Regions from separate parts of the Homo sapiens genome. Here region 2 is linked to region 1. The links are contacts of gene promoters, found by promoter capture Hi-C in blood cells and fetal thymus (Javierre and others, 2016). All regions are on one chromosome and are shown on one strand. The core of a region is centred on a gene start or on the middle of the fragment in contact, and the rest is flanking DNA. Distances in the headings are between cores, read along the strand shown. Region 1 holds the start of COTL1 (coactosin like F-actin binding protein 1). Region 2 overlaps MBTPS1 (membrane bound transcription factor peptidase, site 1).

Evidence for each region. The method cuts DNA at HindIII sites, captures the fragments that hold promoters and counts their contacts. A CHiCAGO score of 5 or more calls a contact.
Region 2: a fragment that was not itself captured here is called in contact with the fragment with the promoter of COTL1 in region 1 in 1 of 17 cell types (naive CD4 T cells); the score reaches 7.4 in naive CD4 T cells.

What each region holds. Positions count from the first base shown.
Region 1 is chr16:84,616,461-84,619,482 of GRCh38, forward strand. COTL1 (coactosin like F-actin binding protein 1) reads right to left here and starts at 1,618. Exons shown (of 4, transcript NM_021149.5): 1 at 1,378-1,618; 2 at 1,041-1,123. The coding sequence starts at 1,454. RefSeq lists silencers at 1,447-1,496, 1,517-1,876. The HindIII fragment of the contact is 6,545 bases long and covers 140-3,022 here.
Region 2 is chr16:84,085,819-84,089,211 of GRCh38, forward strand. MBTPS1 (membrane bound transcription factor peptidase, site 1) reads right to left here. Exons shown (of 23, transcript NM_003791.4): 9 at 1,540-1,642. Among named protein-coding and RNA genes, the nearest start is that of MBTPS1, 29 kb to the right of the region's middle. The HindIII fragment of the contact is 2,176 bases long and covers 192-2,367 here.

The DNA of each region.
Region 1 (3,022 bases), core at 368-2,867:
CCACTGCACTCCAGCCTGGGCAAAAGAGGAAGATTCTGTCTCAAAAATAAATAAATAAATAAATAAATAAATAAGTAACCCACACCGTCTGGCTCAGGGTCCACGCCGTAACCTCCGGGCTGTGCTGCCGTTGTCCGAAAGCTTGCTTCCAACTAAAGACCAGAGATGGGAGGGAGTCGCATTCTCCAATCTCTTTAAAAGGTCCCATTACCAACATCACAGAGCCTCTGCCACTACCGAAGGGTTTATGGCGATGCCTGCCACGTGGTCTTTCTTTTCATGGTTCACAAGCCACAGGGAAGTGCCTAAGGCACACAAATCTTAAGTATACAGTCTGATGATTTTTCACGCGGGTACACACCTGCATAACCCCCTCCCAGATCAACAAATGTCTACAGAGACATTTTCAGCTCCCAGCAGTCCGGGTGGTGTGCCCCTCCCCATCAGTGGCTATCTAGCCCCAAAAGCTAATCTCGATTCTGACATTCACACCATAGATTAGTTTCGCCTTGTCTAGGATTTCTAAATGGAATCATATGGTGTGTACTCTTTTGCATCTGATTCTACTCGTCAAATTAAAAATCACATAAAATCAGCACACGGGCAGACAATGATAGCGGGAGAAAGGAGGGCGCGGCTGAGTTTCTTTCCCTTCCAAGCAGCCCCCTAGCCTGTTCGTATTTGGGCTCAGTGACTGATCAAAGGGGACAGTGGGAAGAGCTGGATGGACACTGGAGTTTGGAAACACAGGAGTTGACCTTAGAAAACCAGTGGACCGCAGGGGGCAAAAGAGCTGCCCCGCCTGGAGAAGGCATTGTAGGATGGCGGAGGCAGGTGGGTCACTTCTGTTGCTTCGGATGTCCAGAGGGGAGAAGGTTTTATGAGGCCTTAAAACGCTCACACCGGGTTCCTCCCACGCCATGCGCCAGGGGCACCCCATGTGGCCACCGGTTCCTCCCGGGTTCGCTCTGGCCGGGGCTCCCCGGGTGCAGACAACCTCCCAACGACCGCGCATCCGCCCGGCAGGCGCGCCTCCCTACCTGTGCACTGCTGGATGAAGTGCTGGTACTCCGCTCCCTGCTCGCCGGGGACGATGGTGGAGCCGTCATATTTAAAAGTCACCCTTTGGGTTGGGAGAAGAAAAAAACACACACACACATCAGCGCTGGTGGCCGCGCGACGCGGCGCTTGCAGAGGACAATCTAACAGACGCGCTGGCCACGGAGAAGCCCGCGGGGGCCTGGCACGCCGTCCCGGAATAAGGCGAGGAAGACAGCGCGGGAGGCCCGAATCCGTCCCGCCTGGAGGCCGGCTCGGTGCACGAGGCCCCGCGCGAGCCCGGGGAGCGGGGCGTGGAGACGAATGAAAAGTTCCTACCAGATGACGGCCGAGCCGTCGTCGCGCACCAGGTTGTACGCCGCCCGGCAAGCCTCTTTGTCGATCTTGGTGGCCATCGCCGCGGAGCCGCAGCGGGACACTGTCCGGGGCGGCCGAGCGCGCCCCTGGCCGGCGGCGGGGATGGGAGCGCGGCGGGTACGCGCCGAGGGCGCACGGGCTGGCGGCGGTGGCGACGGCTACGCGGCGCCTGCAAGCTGCGAGCGCGGCGGCGGCTTCCACTGCGGACGGAGAGCGCGCGGGGACCCCAGGCCGTGGCCCGCCCCGCCCCCCCGCGCCCATTGGCCGCCCAGGCGGCGGCCCGCCTCTTCATTGGCCGTCGGGCTGCGGGGGCGGAGCGTCTTGATTCTCTGGCGGCCAATCCCAGACCGGAAGGCTTGCGCAACTCCGCGGTGGGGGCTGGAGTAGGGGCTTTGCCTCCTCCCTCTCACTCTCCCTCCTCCCTCCCGCTCTCTTCTCCCCCAACATCCCTCTTCTCTCTCCTTCTCCTTCTCACTTCCCCTCCTCCCCTCCCGACCCCTCCCTGGAAACTCCCACTACCCCAACCCCCTTTCCCACCCCGCCTTCCTCCTCTCCCTCCTCCTTCCTCTTCTTCCCCCACTGCTTGCTTCCCCCACTTCCCTGACCTCTTCCCCCTCCCTTCCCTCCCCCTCTTTCTCCCTTCCCCCTTTATTCTTCTTCCTCTCTCCTCCTCCCTCTTCTTGCCTATCCCAGCCCAAAACTTCTCCATCCTCCCTATTTCCTTCTCCCCAAGCTCTCCTCTTTCCTCCTCCTTGACCCCCTCCCCTGCTGCCCCCGGCTTCGCCTCCCTCTTCTCCACTTACCCTCCTGGCATCTCCTCCCTCCCTGTCCCCTACTCCCTCCTCCTATTCCCCCTCTCCCCCTTCCTCATTCTCCCCACCCCCCTGCCCCTGAGGCTGCAGGGCTGCAGAGCTCCACAGGGGACCTCCACGTGGATGATGTAATGCGTCAAACCCAAGGAGACAGGCTGGCCACTGTCCCTACCCCAGCGTTTGGTTCCATGGATTCTAGGTGGGGAGGAACTGGAAAGAATGAAGCATTTTAAATAGGAGGGGGTAGAAAGTGGACTGCTTCCAAAACGCTGGTGGGCTCGCGTTTACTCTGGATTCTGGTCATTTGCATTCCTATCTTAACCTCTCCCTTTGGGCTCCTCTGAAAGCACGAGCTGACTCATTCTGTCTTCCTCATTCCTTCACTGACTCATTCATTCATTCCCTCATCCAGCCATTCCACAGAGACCAGTTACAGCGTCCAGGTAGGTAAAAAGGCAGGATCCTGAAGACTGGGCTCTTGAATTGCATCCAGTACTGCCACTTTCCAACTGGGGGCCATTGGAAAGCCTCAAAACCTCTTTTAAATGACTCCTCAAATGGGAAAAATAGTATAACTGACATCACTGCTTTGTTTTAAGTGTAATTGAAATGATACTTGGAACAAATATACTAGACATTCGATAAAATGTCATCATTGTTGGTTATTAAGTGATAAAAACAAATCCTAAATAGAAACCCAAAAGGTCAGGGACAATGTCCAATTAATGTTAGAATTCTCAACAAGCAAAAAAACAAAAACGAGAAATTGAATGAATCAATCAATCAGTCAATCA
Region 2 (3,393 bases), core at 30-2,529, 530 kb before region 1:
TTAGAAATATGTTAGAAAAATTAGAAAATTAAAATGTAAAAAAACCCAAACATGTTTCTTTACAAGGAAAAAAGTACACGGTATGAGTGGATGTTTCAAACGGTTGTAAAAGAGGAAATAAGAAACCACTGAGAAGGAACAAGATAACCACACGACTAACTTGGGATAACGTTTTAATAAGTACTTGCTTAAGCTTCTTAAGAATTGGGGCAAAACGAAAATTAGAATAGGATCTCATATTCTGTCAGAAAACAGGAGCCCAATTTGAAGGGAAGCCCTTTTCTGACCATCAAACCCAAGGACCATGGATGCACATACTGGGATACCGAGTAAAGGCATCCTCCACTGCAGCTGTGATGATGGAAGGACATTTCTCAAATGCCATTAAAAAGCTGGCTGGTGATGAAGGCCATGGACGTGACATCTCATCACGGTTTGGTGAAAGCGTTTACACGGGGAGCTGGGGACAAAGTGGATGACATCTCACCACAGTTCGGTGAGAGCATTTACACAGGGAGCTGGGGACAAAGTGGTGGATGCAGTTTCCCATTATCCGGCAGCACAAGGAACATGCTGAGGGAGCGTGGATGGGAGGACACGCAGCCTGCCCTGCACAGACTGTCACATGAGAGAATGGTCCCCAGCCAACAGGTCAGCTCCAGGAAGAGGCACGTGAGTGTGGGAGGCGGGGACCCCTGGTGGGGCTGAGTGGCGGGGACGCTGGGGGCTGACGCTGTCACAGGACAAAGGCTCAGGCAGAAGGCTATCCTGTAAAGTGGCTACAGTGTGGACGAGGCCCACAGTGTTCCCAGGCAGTTGGGAATCTTTCCAGGGACTTATCTGAGGCCTCCGAGTGTGGCATGTGACGTTAAACACCAAGAGATGCTCTGACCCTGAAGAATGAGAAGGGCAGATGCTCCCCTCGGCCACAGCGAGGGCAAAGGTGCCCAACTGCTGTTCTGCACGAGCGTCTAATTTTTCATCAAACTTTGACAGGTAAAGGTGGGTGAATGTGCTGCATAATTAAACCCCAAACAGCTGAATTATTAACTGTAGCAGTTATTTTGAATTTGTCCAGCTAAATACAATTGTTTCTGTGTTAGCAGAGTTGATATTAAGCTGTTCTCAATGGTTTCTCCAACTTCTTAAGGCTCCCCTCCCCCAAAAAATATCATCTCACCTACCACTGAGGAGGACTGCTTACCACTACTAGATAGGGTAAACGGGCAGGAACCCAATTCACCTAAAGGTGAGTTCCTCAGAAATCAATTAATAAGTTAAACTGGGAAACACCGCTTAGAATCAGCCGGTGCTCATCACAGCAGCTGTGGACTTGCCAGAGTGAAGTGGCAGATGCTGACGGGGCCCAGATCTCTCGTCCTCACGGCTGGGCAGGCACTCACAGCCCCGGCTATTCCCATGTGAATGTGAGGGTGTCTGTGCACTTACAAATACACCCCAAGGCTCGTCAACAACCGGTGCCACTAGCCACAGTAGTTTGTCCAGCTAAATACAATTATTTAGCAAAGAAGAGCGTACCCAGGTAGTCATTCCCCTTGAAGAAAAGCGGGCGATGTTATCTTCAAAGTCAATGCCGCCTACTCCAATCACATCCATTTGATCAGCAGGGTTATTCAGAGTGCTATATTGAGACCAAAAAAAAAAAAAAAGAAAAGAAAAAGAAAAAAACAAGAGAAATAATTTAAAATGGATGATTCAAACCAGGGCGAATACTCCCAGAACAATCTAACACTGTATGAGCTGCTTCTGTGGGAAGACGTGTGCAGCTCCTCACGGCTGTCCTGTGAAACGCATGATCCTGCCACGTTCATGCTGTGCTCACATTACGCCCTCTCACCTGCAACGCCCCTCCTTTCTTCTCCTCCCTGTCAACTTGGCACACTGGGGCTCAAGGCTCACGTTTTCCCTCCAGCAATCCAAGCCTTAAGCATCTGTACTTGCCTTGAACCTCACAACACTTAACACAATCACAATTTATCACCTAACGACACATTCTCACATCACTTTCAAATTGTTCCCAGCACATTCATCTTAACTCCCCAGCTAAATCACACACTTCTCCTGGAAGAAACCATAACCACACATTTACATCTGCCAAGGTCAGGAAGTGGTAAGTTTTCGATTGACCTGTGGTGGTGTTCTACCCTCCTCATAGGGAACTGTAGAAGGACTATCATTACTCTGTAATCTTGAGCTCCTTAGAGTCTCTCCAATACCTTAAGTGCACTAGATCTGCAAAGAAATTATAGTGAAATAAATAATGGCAAAAATGTGTAAACCGTAAAGTCAAGATAAAGATGAACCATTTGAAAATATGAGACACTCAGTTATAAAACTGCATTGCTAAGCTTTATTATGGCTCCACTACCAAAAAAAATGAACTCTTTGACAAATCAACAACTACATACAACTGATTCCAAGTGGCTTAAGAGATAATAGCAGCATGAAGTTCTCCTTCTAGAGTGTGTTTTTAACTGACAATTCCCAACACACCGAGAAAAAGTGGTACTGCCTCCTCAGCCCACTGGCCACCAATATCCTACCAGCTGGTCATTCAGAGGAACGAATAATGATTTTCTGATGACTGATGCTAGATGTTTACACATTCCCAGGAACTCAAGGAGCAGAGGCTGGTACAGAAGTCACTGACAGAAACTCCCACTGAAGTTGACCAAAAAAATACCACCTTCCCACCCTCCTCTACCTGCTAAGCCCTATAATGCTTAGTGTACTTTAAACCCTTAAAAAATAAGGGAACGCATCAAGAAATCATTGCTGGTATTGAAAAGGAGGGACGTGAGGCTGCAGGCTTGCTGGCACCACAGAGTCTAGGAGCACCAAGGGCACAGGACCCAGACAAAGAGACCACAGCAAAGGGGACCGGAGGATGTGTGCCTCATTCCCAGAGGGGCTGACGTATGCATGTTACTGTCCTCAGACCAGCCCTGGAAGCAGTCCCACCAGATGCCCAAGCAGAAAAAACCACACCCACCACAAGCTGGGCTGCCGTGATCACATGCCACGTTCTGTCACTTCAACAGCCAGCAGGTGGCCAGGTCTGTGTGAGGCAGCATGAGCGTACACACAAGGTGGAGATGGGGCCTTCCTGGCAAGGCTCTGCTCCTTCAACACACCATAAACTCACAACTCTGGTAAGAAGCTACGGAGTGCAACCACCCACAAAAGCCACAGGGTTTCAGAACGGCAGCCAGCGTGTGACAAAACAGTCCGAACAGCATGCGAAAGAGCTGGGAATCCAGACAGGTATGGCCAGGAGGATGGGCAGAGGGATGGGGTGCGGAAGACCTGAGAGAAACAGAAGGAGGACACTCATTCCAGGAAGGTGTACATGGGGAAGTGGAAGATCAAGGT